Regions from separate parts of the Homo sapiens genome. Here region 2 is linked to region 1. Evidence: promoter capture Hi-C in 16 types of primary human blood cells and fetal thymus (Javierre and others, 2016). All regions are on one chromosome and are shown on one strand. The core of a region is centred on a gene start or on the middle of the fragment in contact, and the rest is flanking DNA. Distances in the headings are between cores, read along the strand shown.

The links. Contacts are between HindIII fragments. The CHiCAGO score rates a contact against its expected background, and 5 or more counts as called.
Region 2: a contact is called between a fragment that was not itself captured here and the fragment with the promoter of APCS in region 1, in 2 of 17 cell types (M2 macrophages and endothelial precursors). The highest score is 7.4, in M2 macrophages.

Annotation. Positions count from the first base shown.
Region 1 is chr1:159,584,383-159,591,472 of GRCh38, reverse strand. APCS (amyloid P component, serum) reads right to left here and starts at 3,647. Exons shown (of 2, transcript NM_001639.4): 1 at 3,488-3,647; 2 at 2,608-3,372. The coding sequence starts at 3,551. The coding sequence ends at 2,765. The HindIII fragment of the contact is 2,624 bases long and covers 1,603-4,226 here.
Region 2 is chr1:159,229,864-159,236,760 of GRCh38, reverse strand. No RefSeq gene overlaps it. Among named protein-coding and RNA genes, the nearest start is that of ACKR1, 28 kb to the right of the region's middle. The HindIII fragment of the contact is 3,915 bases long and covers 2,624-6,538 here.

The DNA.
Region 1 (7,090 bases), core at 2,398-4,897:
CCAACCTCAAGCCTAATGTGGGGGCTTCTGTGGAATCACTGCGGAAGCTTGAAATATCCCTCTTGCTATTGGGAGACTCAAAGGACTTGAGAAAGCTGCAACCACTGTGTAAATAGGAAAGAGTTGTCTATATTAAGACCATCTGAGACTTCTAGAATTTATAGGGACAAGAGATGTATAAGTGCTTCTTTTGGCTGAAATACAGACAACATAGAAGAAAGAGCTTACATGCAGTCATTTTGGATTCTGTTCAAAAGAGCCATTTTAAGAGGCAGAGGGTTCACAAGAACAAGAAACCTGTCACAAACACTGTATCCTGAGATCTATGCAAGTAGTTGCAAATGATCACCAAGAATAAATAATACCTTTAACTTAGGGGAAAGTGAGAGGTGGACTATGATATCAACCTGAGATAGAAGAAAGCTTAAACATGTGAGAGATGGATTACAGTACAGCCTGATTATTGTTAGGAGAAACCCACATGTAGTTAACACAGATTTATTAGAATGTAAATTCTAAAATAGCAAGCACCATGATTGTTTTATTCAATATTATATTTTCAGTACCTGGCATTGCCTGGCGTATTTTTGAGAAGTTGCTCAATAAATAGTTGAATGAATGGATTATATCACTTGGAAGTACACTGGTTTCATTTCTAAAATTGTCTTGGGTTCCTAGGCAAAGGGGTTGTTAAACCAAAACACAGTGTTAGTGAACATGATAGAAATATCTGTTATGCAAGAATAGATAGACCTTTCTAGTACTCACAGTACAAGTTTATGGAAAGGTCGTTAATATTGAGAAAGCGTAAAGCAAGCCTTAACTCATGAGCTGTCAATCAGAAATTAATAATTTCTCATATTGCTAAAATCCCTGTCTACCTAACCAACTCAATGTTCTAAGTAAGTTCTACTTGTCTTAGTCCATTTTGTGTTGCTATAAAAGAATACCTGAGACTCAGTGATATATAAAGAAAAGAGGTTTATCTGGCTCATCGCTCTGCAGGCTGAGAAGTTAAAGATCATGCCTCTGGCTTCTGGTGAGGGCTTTTGTGTTGTGTCAAAACATGGTGGAGAAATTCAAAGGCGAAGTGAACATGTGCGAAGAGAACAAAATCTAAGGGACATCCTGGCTTTATAACAGCTACATCTGGCAAGAACTAATCTGATCCCACAAGAGTTAATGCACTCTCATAAGAGTGAGAACTCACTCATTACCGTAAGAACAGCACCAAAACATTCATGAGGGACCCACCCCCATAGCCCAAATGCCTTTCACTAGGACTCACCTTCCAACAACACCATATTGGGAATAAAATTTCAAGATGACGTGTGGTGGCGGCAAACAAACCATATCCAAACCATCATACCACCTCACCAGAAATGAGGTTGAAATGTTCTTATGAAGCCCCTGCTGCTCCATTTAAGTACTTCAGCAAATCTTCCCAGGTTCTGTCTGCTCTCCTCTGCTTCCACCCCATTGTCCCATTATGGAGTTTCCAGATTCTATCCTACTTCTTCATATCTGGTGACTGCCTCTGTTCATTCTGGCCAAATGGCCTCATGAGTTTGAAATCATGACATTGGTTACCATCCTGAAGCTTCTGGATGCTATCTTTCTGATTCCACTGACTACATGCTCTACTTATTATCAGTGAGAAAAGCCTGTCTTATTTCCCATATATGTAGCTCAAACTCCCTCTGGGATCCTTGCTTCTCTGGGAATGCAACTTATATCTGTTGACGATGTGCCAGGCACTGTGTTCCATGCTTTTCATAACCATAAAAATAACTACTAGTAATAGCATCTGACAATTATTTTTCAGTGTGATAGTTAGGATGTGGCTTGCTCTGCTAAGAGTTGTATCTGAAATGTACATGGAAAGTCCATTTCAGAGAGTATTCTGTGTATACTCTCTGTGTACATTTCAGAGAGAGTAACTGGGACCAGGTTATAGAGGGCAATGTCATATTTAGAGGTTTAAATCATGTCCTGTAAGAAGTGTGAATCCATGGAAGAATTTTAGACAGCATATTCATGTGAGCAATATTCAGAGTATAATATTTTTTGATGACATCAAGAGAACATTATGAAAATCAAGCATTGTACAGTCCTACTGAGGTTTTTGAGACATAAAGTTATGTTTGTCTTCATACAAAATGATCCCAGTCTCATACTTTTTTGGTTTTCATTCTGACTTCTTCTAGTTTTATTCTTCCTGTCTTATTACTTGCTGTCAGGTTCTCAACTATTGCTTACTTATATCATTATAGTTGTCTACCTGATGCAACCTCAGACCCCTTTTTGATCGATTTGTAGCTGGAAAAACAAATAGGAGAATTGTGATTACAATTCCACACATATTTTGAATCGTCATTAAAATGATTGTTAGTAGCTTTTAAGTATTGCCACTGTTGTGCTCATTGAGTGCTCTGGCTTTGTGATATATCTTTCTAGTTACTTACAGGTTTTCCTCCCCGTACTTGGCAATTGGAGTTTTCAGGATAATGAAACACCAATTACCAATGAAACACCAATTAGTAGATAGATAAGTAGTAGACATAAGATAAAGATATGGGACTATGACAAGCACTAAACAAATGCAGGTAGCATAATACAATATATATTTTTTTAATTAGGCAGACATACAGATAGGAAATTCAAAGAAGAAAGAGCTGCAGATGTAAGATCTAGTATCCAGTTGCTTTGACCAGATCTCTTAGACAGTCATTTCATTTTCAAGTGCTCTCGTTGAGTCAAGACCTCAGACCCACACCAAGGGTTTGATGATGACATATCCTCTGATTTCATAGTTCAGAGCCTGCCAGTCCAGGATATTGGCAGGGAGAGGGGTACCCTGATAGGCAGACAGGATATTTTCTGGGGGCAGCACAGAGTCCCACATGTACAAATCCCCAATCTCTCCCACAAAGGACTGGCTCCTATCAAACTTGCCCCCATAGGAATCCTGTTCCTGCCCCAGGACAATCTTGGGCTGAGCTTCTACAAAGTAACCCTGTCGCAGACCCTTTTTCACCAAAGGTGTCCCATTGATCCAAAATTCAGCAATACCTGATGAGGACTCCCAGCTCACACAGATGTGCACTGGAGCCGGGAACTTTTCGATAACTTTGGATGTAACTTTGTGTCTTCCAATGTATAGACTATACTCTCCAACTCTTTCTTTATAAACTAGTAGCTCATTATCCCTGCCTTGGGTATTGTAGGAGAAGAGGCTGTAGGCACGAGAGAGATCACTATAGGCTCGAAAACACAAGGTAAAGTTCTGTAGAGGCTTCTCCAGCGGTGTGATCAAGTTTACATGATCAGTAACAGATTCTCTAGGAAATACAAACACCTTCCCACTGAGGTCTGCGGGATAAAGAAAGAAAGATAATGACCTTCAGTATAAATGCAGGGAAAAGATATCTCAGCTTCAACCTATTTTCTCACTTTATGATTCTTGACCATTCCTTCACCTCCTTACCTGTGTGAGCAAAGGCTTCCAGGAGGCTGGTGAGGACAGAGATCCAAAGCAGCGGCTTGTTCATATTCCTGGCCTAGGGCTGTTATAGCAGAAGCAGTGACCAGGATGAGGGTAGCAGACAACACAGTGGCTGTCCCCCTAGCGTCTGATATTCATGCCCTTAGACTTCAGGTTATTCAGGGTTTATATGCACCTTGGGTGAGGATGGGGGAGGAAGAGCACCAATAATATGTGAGTGATTTTCCAGGTCTGCCTCCTGGCGCTTACGGTGAAGGAGTGGTGAGCCCTGAGCTGGAAAATCAATGGGAGTTATTTATTAGAGACAAGTGATGGCTAGAGCTCCAACTCCTGTGACCCAGATTTTATTGCTGGGAAGAGAGTCATTGCAGGGCAGCAGGGTTATGGATGGGATGAGGCGCTGGGCTGGCCATGTCAGCAGAGCCTCTCTCTGCTCTCTGGGCCCCCTCTCTGATGGCTCTGTGCTCTGCCAGAAGCTCCTGAGCCACACAGAGTGTATCGCTGAGCTCAGCCCTCTTGTGGGCTATGGGAACAAGGCCTTTTCTTTCTTTTATAGTTCTCAAGTTGTCTTGTATTTGTAGGATATTCTAGGATTCTGCTTTCTGCTGAAGACCCTAAAAAGTGCCTTCAACTTTGACTAATTCAACATCAAGTAATACATCCAGGCAAAGCTAAGGGGAAAGAGGGACTTGGAGAATAAACTTTCTGTCCCCATGAAGCTTAGTATTTTTCTGCTACTTCTACTCAGTGCTTTTTTTTCGTTTGCATATCATGGTGCTTCCTTATCCTAGATCTTTCCATTTCTCATTACGACTTGTTTTCTGGTTACTTCATGCTACCTGCAGAGATGTCAGCATCTCCCCAAGTTTTTCTCTCCTCTTCTTTGAGTCCTTGGTCATTGAGTGTATATCTAATCCATCTTTGGTGATGACCCCACTAATACATTTATTCACTAGCTCTCAGTTACTACACTAGGTGCTGGGGATTCAGTGGTCACTGGCTCTCTCACAGCCCCAGAGATCTCCACCTTCATTCTTTCTATGTCTCCTTCATTCTCTCTCTGTACAGTTTATTAACCACCACTCAAACCTTCTCTGCCTCTGAGATATCAAACTGAAGTTCTTCTTTCTAGCCACATTATTTCTTTCTCTCTCATCCCTGAATTATATGGTGTCTTGTTTCTCATCCTACTGTTTAGCCTCTTGTTCACTCTCTCTTCTGTTAGCTCACCACAGACCTAATCAGCCTTTTCAATGACACAATCACTGCCACCAAGAATACACTTTCTCTATCATTGTTCAAAGTATCCTTCCTATTCTCATCCCTGGGGAGTTTCCATTCTCTACTTTTTTTCTCTAAATGGAATCCCAGGTTGTGAAGCCTTATCTGGCTTGTTGCACAGTATAGGTTAGTGATAAAGTTGGGATTATGCATCTATTGACTCCTGAATTAAATACAGACCATTTGCTTGGAAGCCAATGCCATTTGCAATCTGGCTCTAACCTGGCTATTATCTCAGAATCTAATCCTATTCTCCAGTCAAACACCTCTAATTGTTGTTCTTTATACCTTCCTGGCTTTCTTGATTTCATTACTTCTATTCAGTGCCTTCATACTGTCTTGAATTTCTCTCTTATTTTCTTTTCCTGTTTCTAGGAATTCCAGCCATTCTTCCACATTAATCTCAAGCTTATTTAGGTGATGGTTATAGTAAAAGCCCAGACTTCACTATTATGTTATTGCTGTCTATGTAATAAAACTAAACTTGTATGCCTTGAATTTATACAAAAATATAAAAAATAAAAAACAATCTGCTTCATGAAGACTTTTCTAATATCCCAACTATACATTATTTCCCCTCTTTCGTACTTCCCATAAGGTTAAGATCAAAGACTTTGGGATAGAATTCCAATGTTGCCATTTACTAGTGGCTGACTATTCTGCAAGTCACTAAACCCCTCTGAACCTTAGTTTCCTTCTCTGTGAAACAAAGATAAAACTATCTACCTCACAGTGTTTCTCTAAGGATAAATGAGATACTATGATATACATAAAGTACATGGAACAGTATCTGGATGGTTATTATTACCATCATTTTAGAGCCTTTATGGCTGTTACCACTATCTGTCTCATATTATAGATATTATTGTATTTATCTTGAATCCCTTCTAGACTGAATCTGGGTATTAGGACTTATTTATATTTAGATCATTGGTTTCATCTAACAATTTTTCTTACACATGAAAAGAAACTGTTACATATTGTGGAATCAAAGGACTCAACTTTGTGTGAGGATTTTTTTTTTTTTACAAGAAACAGTTTATTAGCAACAAAAAGTAGAATACAATTGAATAATATGATAAGGTAATACTGGAAGTAGGAGCAGGAAGGTAACATTTCTTGAGAACCCAGGGACTATGCAATTCCCTAACATTTCCAGATGTTAATTAATAAGTGCCATAAAACTCAGAGAACACAGGGCTTACCAGATGCTTCTAGTTTTCTTCATAAATAAATAAATAATCATTATCTTAACAAAAAATGGTTTGCAAATTAATATCAAAGAGAGTCTTCTCTAATGGGAGATAAGCCTAGGGAACAGGTCTTGGGGATAAGTGACACAGCCTTAGACTCATGGTGGGAGAGCTTGGAGATAACGGCTTTAGATAGCTGTTGGGGCCAAGTGCAAGGGTTTGCAGTTGAATATGAAAATGTTGTGTTATACACTGTGAAAAGGAAACCCTGGTTGGAAGGTAGGGTCTACAGTATAATTGGAAAAGGGAGAAAAAGTGGAGTCTGATTCTGTTGTCTAGTTTCCTTCCCCAGAATATGCTTCTCAGGCCTTGGAAGAGAACAGCCTGCACTTCAAGAGTTGTCAAAGAGGAAACTGAGAATTATTTTTATTGTAGAAAGGAAAAGTTCTGATGTCAGGATGTAGGAAAATGAATCCTGGGTCTTCAGAACTGGGTGCAATCCTCACAGTGAGCCAATCCTCACTGTTGCTGGATCCTCCTGGGTGCCATCCTGCCAGTGAAAGTTCAGGTCAAGGTGGCGGCTCCTGTCTGGATGGCTATGGAAGAGTTGAGGCTGGGGGAAGAAAAGATACAGTATGCTGAAGAGAAACAGGTCCACCTGTGTGCCACAAACAGAGTTGTCTTGGCTACATTAATTGGCATGCAACAAAGTTTACCCTCAGAGAGCATAGTGGAAGAAGGCATCAGCAGTAGCAGAAAGAGGATCTGACTCGGAGCTTCAAAAAAGCAGAAGTATGAGATATAACTGGAGATCACCTGAGGGATTAAAGAATAACCTAAAGATGGTTTCTGAGACCTCAGGTGTTTGTAGAAGACATTAAGTCACAGTAACCAATGGGAAAGACTGGATAGGAAGAGACTGAGTAGAACAAGATTTGTGTTCAGTAAAGAATTATTTGCTGTGTGTTCTGTCAGTTGTAAGGGAATTTGAGAGCATTTAGATGGAAAGAGGCAATGGAGGCATGCATCAAGAGTAACTGATTATCACTCTGATATGTGGTTGGATAAAACCAAAGATACACAACTTAGACTGATGGCAGGGTCTTATTGT
Region 2 (6,897 bases), core at 3,332-5,831, 360 kb after region 1:
TAAGGATCTTCTCTTACCTTGTTTAATATAAATTTAATTGTTTCTAACACCATTTGGTTGGCATTCCCATCAGGTGTCTAACAGTTGTTGTAAGGTCAAATTTGATATGTCTTACATCAAAATATTCTATTATTCTATCCTTGGTAGATTCAGAAAATATTGTATGTAATGTTTAAGTTGTTTCAAAGAATATCGCATCTATTGGCATAGTTGTGACTACGTCCTCTAGTGACAAATTTAAACTATGCAATGTATATGGCACCAAAAAGTCTGCTGAATTTTTGGCTAAAATTTTGGGATAGATATATTGATTTGAATTGAATTCTGTTTTGCTCAAACTATTCATACAATGTCAAAAGGATATCATGACCATTTTCTAATATCTTCACCTAATAAAGCCCAAGATAATAAAGCTAATAGCTTCTTCTTTAGTCATGGAATTTGCCAATTTTATAAATGTAACTTTCTTTATCTTTCAATGAGCAGGTCAAAATTGTGTTTGACGTTTCCAAATTGCAAATTTGCTGTTAATAATTCTTTTTTTCAAGCCCCCATAGCCAAGACAATCCTAAGCAAAAAGAACAAAGCTGGAGGCATCACGCTACCTGTCTTCAAACTATACTACAAGGCTACAGTAACCAAAACAGCATGGTACTGGTACCAAAACAGATATATAGACCAATGGAACAGAACAGAGGCCTCAGAAATAACACCACACATCTACAATCATCTGATCTTTGACAAACTTGACAAAAGCAAGCAATGAGGAAAGGATTCCCTATTTAATAAATGGTGCTGGGAAAACTGGCTAGCCATATGTGCAAAGCTGAAACTGGATCCCTTCCTTACACTTTATACAAAAATTAACTCAAGATGGATTAATGACTTAAATGTTAGACCTAAAACCATAAAAACCCTAGAAGAAAACCTAGGCAATACCATTCAGGACATAGGCGTGGGCAAAGACTTCATGACTAAAACACCAAAAGCAATGGCAACAAAAGCCAAAATTGATGAATGGGATCTAATTAAACTAAAGAGCTTCTGCACAGCAAAAGAAACTACCATCAGAGTGAACAAGCAACCTACAGAATGGGAGAAAATGTTTGCAATCTATCCATCTGACAAAGGGCTAATATCTAGAATCTACAAAGAACTTAAACAAATTTACAAGAAAAAAAATCCCATCAAAAAGTGGGCAAAGGATATGAACAGATACTTCTCAAAAAAAGACATTTATGCAGCCAACAGACATGAAAAAATGGTCATCATAACTTGTCATCAGAGAAATGCAAATCAAAACCACAATGAGATACCATCTCATGCCAGTTAGAATGGCGATCATTAAAAAGTCAGGAAACGACAGATGCTGGAGAGGATATGGAGAAATAGGAACACTTTTACACTGTTGGTGGGACTGTAAACTAGTTCAACCATTGTGGTAGTCAGTGTGGCGATTCCTCAAGGATCTAGAACTAGAAATACCATTTGACTCAGCAATCCCCTTACGGGGTATATACCCAAAGGATTATAAATCATGCTACTATAAAGACACATGCACATGTATGTTTATTGTGGCACTATTCACAATAGCAAAGACTTGGAACCAACCCAAATGTCCATCAATAATAGACTGGATAAAGAAAATGTGGCACATGTACACCATGGAATAATATGCAGCCATAAAAAAGGATGAGTTCATGTCCTTTGCAGAGACATGGATGAAGCTGGAAACCATCATTCTCAGCAAAATATCACAGGGACAGAAAGCCAAACACCGTATGTTCTCACTCATAAGTGGGAGTTGAACAATGAGAACACATGGACACAGGGAGGGGAACATCACACACCAGGGCCTTTTGGGGGCTGAGGGGCTTGGGGCAAGGGATAGCATTAGGAGAAATACCTAATGTAAATGACAAGTTGATGGGTGCAGCAAACCAACATGGCACATGTATACCTGTGTAACAAATCTGCATGTTGTGCACATGTACCCTAGAACTTAAAGTATAATAATAATAATAAAGGTCACATACACACAAAAGAAAATTCTCTTTTTCATTCTCATTGTTTTTATTGGTAATTAAGTTTTTATTTAGTAAGGGATATGAAGTTGCAGGCATTTCCTTTCACCTGTTCAAGTTGAAGATTTAGTAGGAATAATTTTCTTGCCCATGTGCATTGTTTTCATAAATAATTATTTATGTAATAAAACATTTGTAATGTAATAATCACACATTTTATCTGGGTATTGCATTTCAGAAGTATGGTTACTTTCATTGTTTATAATTCTAAATTGCTCATCTTTTTTTTTCTTTTTTCTTTACAGCTTCTTTTCTTTCATGAGCTCAAATTTCTTAATGTGTATATCACAATCTTGTACTCATTCTCATTTAAGGGATTTTAAAAATAGCTGTAAAAGTGTACAAGATTTGAGTATATTCTCATTAAAATTCAAATTAAAATAAATATGAAAGATTTTATAAACAAAATAACATGTATGTTTTTAAGAAAGTTTTTTTAAGTACTTAAATGTGTTCAAATAAAAAGGCAAATATGAATTGTATTTAATAAATATCATGAATTCAAGATTATTTTAAGCTAAAGTTTTATTTTTTAAGCTTTACTTAAATCTCAATATTTACTTAAAACTCAAATATTTTTACAAAATTAATTTGTTCACAATTCTAGAGTTCAATTTCTTTGTACCTGCCAATGTAAAGAATCAGGGCCATACCTTTCTAATATTACGCATATTATGTTGGCCACAAATGTCTAAAGTTAAGAGTTATATAAACTGTTTAACATTGCAAAACATTTCTCATCTGCCATGTGTAACCTGTGCTAGTTGATGATTCTCTGTGAAACTGCAAATTGGAATGCAAAGAGAAGCAAGAAAATGGACAATTGGCACTACTGGGGAATGATAATCTTTTATACAAGAATGTGATATATTCATGTTATCCTAGAGGACAAATTTGACAAGTTAATTAATTTGTTTTTTTCTGTCCTAATAGCTTCTGCCATTCAAACCCCTCCTAGTGCCAGGGTGTATCCATCTCCTAGCGCCACAATCCACCAACTTAATGGTATTTGGATACAATTGCTTCTTAAATTAACTTTATTATTAATTGACACATAATAATTATACATATTTATGGGGTACTGAATGATACTTTGATACAGTTATACCATGTGTAATGATCAAATCATGGTAATTAGCATATATATCACCTCAAAACACTTATCCTTTTTTTGTGTTGGGAACATTTAAAATCCTCTCTTCTCATAATTGTCTTTCATTTTGAGGACAAAGGACAAGAGATGTGGAGAAGCATTTCTCTGGGGGAATGAAAGGTGTTAGGGCAGATGTAAGGGTTATATGTCCTTAAGCCAGCACTGGACAATGGATCCTCGGGGCAGAAACCCCTTTGGGTTTTTATTTTAATTTTTTTATATTTTTATTTATTTATTTATTTATTCTTTTTGAAGCAGAGTCTCACTCTGTTGCTCAGGCTGGAGTGCAGTGGCATGATCTTGGCTCACTGCAACCTCCACCTCCCGGGTTCAAGCGATTCTCCTGCCTCAGCATCCCAAGTAGTTGGAATTACAGGCATGTGCCACCATGACTGGCTAATTTTTGTATTTTTAGTAGAGACCGAGTTTCACCATATTGAACAGGCTGGTCTCAAACTCCTGACCTCGGGTGACCCACCCGCCTCAGCCTCCCAAAGTGTTGGGATTACAGGCGTGTGCCACAGTGCCCGGCCCCACTTTGGGTTTTTTAATAAATTTAGTTTTGGCTGTGTTTATAATACAGTGGTCCCTCTCCAATGTGAGGCCTAAGGCAGGATTTCCTTGCCCAAATCAAAGAGTGTTACTGATACTAGCAATTGTTTTAAATACTTTCATGGTAATAAAATGCCATAAGTTTAGCTTATTAATATGCACATTGGTGATGAGAAGTCTTATTCCCTTTTTACCTGTGTCTCAAATGTTATCAATAACATTTATCAGTAGTCTAATTATATATCTTGAATTTCAATATCCTTTCCAGTTGTGGACATTGATGGCTTTTTTTTTTCTTCATCCTTTTCTCCTTCTCTGGTAAAATAAACAAACAAAAAACCAAAAAGTCTGCTATTCTAGTAACTGTACTTCCTCTGGGTGGTGTGCCAGGGGTTGGAATTTTCTGATTGGCCAACCTGGATCATCTGCTCATGACAGTCTTGGGAGAGATGAGGTCCCACCCACTGCGCTGGGTGGGCATGTAGTACAGGATGGTCCATCAAAGTTGCTTTCCCCACCCTAGACATGATGATTAGGTCAGAGATGGGCCTATGGCGCCAGCAAGGACTGGGTTTTGGGGGGGATTGATATGATCTCTAAGACTTTTCTACTTCAAAATTGTAAACACAAGACCATGTCGGCTGGGCGCGGTGGCTCACGCCTGTAATCCCAGCACTTAGGGAGGATGAGGCGGGCGGATCACGAGATCAGGAGATCGAGACCATCCTGGTTAACACGGTGAAACCCCGTCTCTACTAAAAATACAAAAAATTAGCTGGGCGTTGTGGCGGGCGCCCGTAGTCCCAGCTACTCCGGAGACTGAGGCAGGAGAATGACTTGAACCCGGGAGGCGGAGCTTGCAGTGAGCCGAGATCGCGCCACTGCACTCCAGCCTGGGCGACAGAGGGAGACTCCGTCTCAAAAAAACAAAAACAAAAACAAAAGACCATGTAAGCCTAGAGAGGCCACAATCTATTTTTGCTGTGAACTAGAGACTGCATACCTGAGGAAAAAAAAAAAAACAACACAGAAGAGCAAGAGCCAGAAGACTGAGAGAATGGCATCTGATGATTTCACTTGAGCCCCTGGATCCAACCTCACTTATTGTGGATTTTTGAGTTACATGAGCAATCACATCCTTTTATTCTCGTCTTTTCTTTTTTATCTACTTCTTGTTAAATTTTGTCATTTATAATGAATGTCTTCCAAATAATACACAACCTTCCTCCTACCTGCCTTCTGGTATTGTTCTTTTATGTACTTCAGCATTTGACATGACTTTCCCATTCAAGTCTCTGTGACACTGAATAAATGAATGAATGAAGCTAACAATGACTTACTGCTTTTTCCTACATTCAGAAGTACTTATCACATCTGTCATTTACTTCTTTGATATGTGTATTATTTTCATGTTTACAAATGAGGAAAAATTTGCTCATAAAGTTTATGTTTCTTGCCCACAATCAATAGCTAGCTAGCAACTGGGGCAGAATTCAGAGCCTGGACTGACTGACTTAAAAACCTAAACCTTTTCTCCCTCCTCAATGAATCACCAGTAACGAAAATAGTGTTGTTGGATTATTTGTTTGCTTAAGATACTCTAAATCAAGTTATCTCCCAGTTGCCTGTCTCTTAGCGGTTCCATGATTCTCTTTGCTTAGCATATCTCTTCACGTACTTCCCCCAAAGAGATCATTGATGTCTCCCCAGTGTCTGCAAATCAATTAGTTTAATAAGTAGTGATTCTCATGTTTGACTTTTGGACTTCTTCTTAGCATTTTTATGATTCTTCTTAGTATCTTCAGCACCAAGCACACACCCTGCCACATAGTAGGTGCTGCAGGCTACAGAAGAATTCTTTGAACCTTTGATTACTTGCTCCTTGACTATATGAAAAAATAACTACTGTGTTCCTGAGTCTTCTTTTTTCTAAAAGAGACTTCCTTAATCCTTTCAGTTCTTCCTTATAAACATGTTTCAGTTGAGGAGGGTTTAGGTTATTGCAGTCTTATGAATATGAAGGACAATTTTCTTAGGAAGATTACTTTGATATTTATGTACAGGTTGGTAAGAGGAAAAAGAGAAAGGAAAATGACCAGTGGTGTTCTATCACAGGAATAAGCCATGAGCTTTTCATGGCCCTTACCATAACACGACAATTATTTATTTTTCACTACTATTAGACTGTAAATTCCATAAGTGCAGGCACACTATTTGTCTTGTTTGTTAATTTTTTTGAATGTCAAGTATAAAACACATGACCCTGCACCTGGTGTGAAGCCTATAGGCTTAAAGTTAGACTACGTTAGTTCAAATCCTGGATCACTCTATAATATGCAAACTCTCATAGATCAAGCCACATAATTCCCATAGCCTTGATAGTTTTGTTTTTAAGTGGATACCAGTCATTCCTATCTCAAATATTCATTGTGAAAATTAAGTTAGGTAGTTCATAGAAAGTGTTTAGCATAATGATGGGCACATAGCACTCAAAAATGCCTTCAAAATTATTATCAGGCCTTCAATAAATATTTTTAAACGATCTAGTTGTAGTTTCCTGACCTTCACTATTCTTGTTCCTAACCTCTCCATACATGCTGGTTTGATAATGTTCCTTGCTTTTAAACAACATTTCAGGGGGAATATGACCAATGAAATATCACAAAGACTGGCCACCTTCCTTTTGCATAGTTAGCTTTCTCATCTAATCAGGAGTTGACTCCTTTGTGCTTGCAAGACCCCTAAAGCTTTCTCAAACATGTGTCATTTATCAGCTTCTTCATGGAAATCTTGGGGTAGTAACTAAGCACTCATCAGATTGGAATCCAGTAGTCAGGGTGATAGCTTTGGCTTTAAAACGAGGTGTGGACCTGAGGGCAAATAGAAAGGACATTATCTCCTCAGTAATCTGAGGAAGCAAAGAAAATAACTCTGGAATTGGAGTTGGATGGCAGGAGAACAAAAGTTAAAACTGGGAAGCAGGATGGAGATGACAATAAATACTTGCTTTCTGTGTCAGCAAATGCCAAGCTGAAGTAATAAAACTGTACTTATAGTTGTTAATCCAGATATAGTTTGCATCCTGAGAGCTTTGCATATTGCAATAAA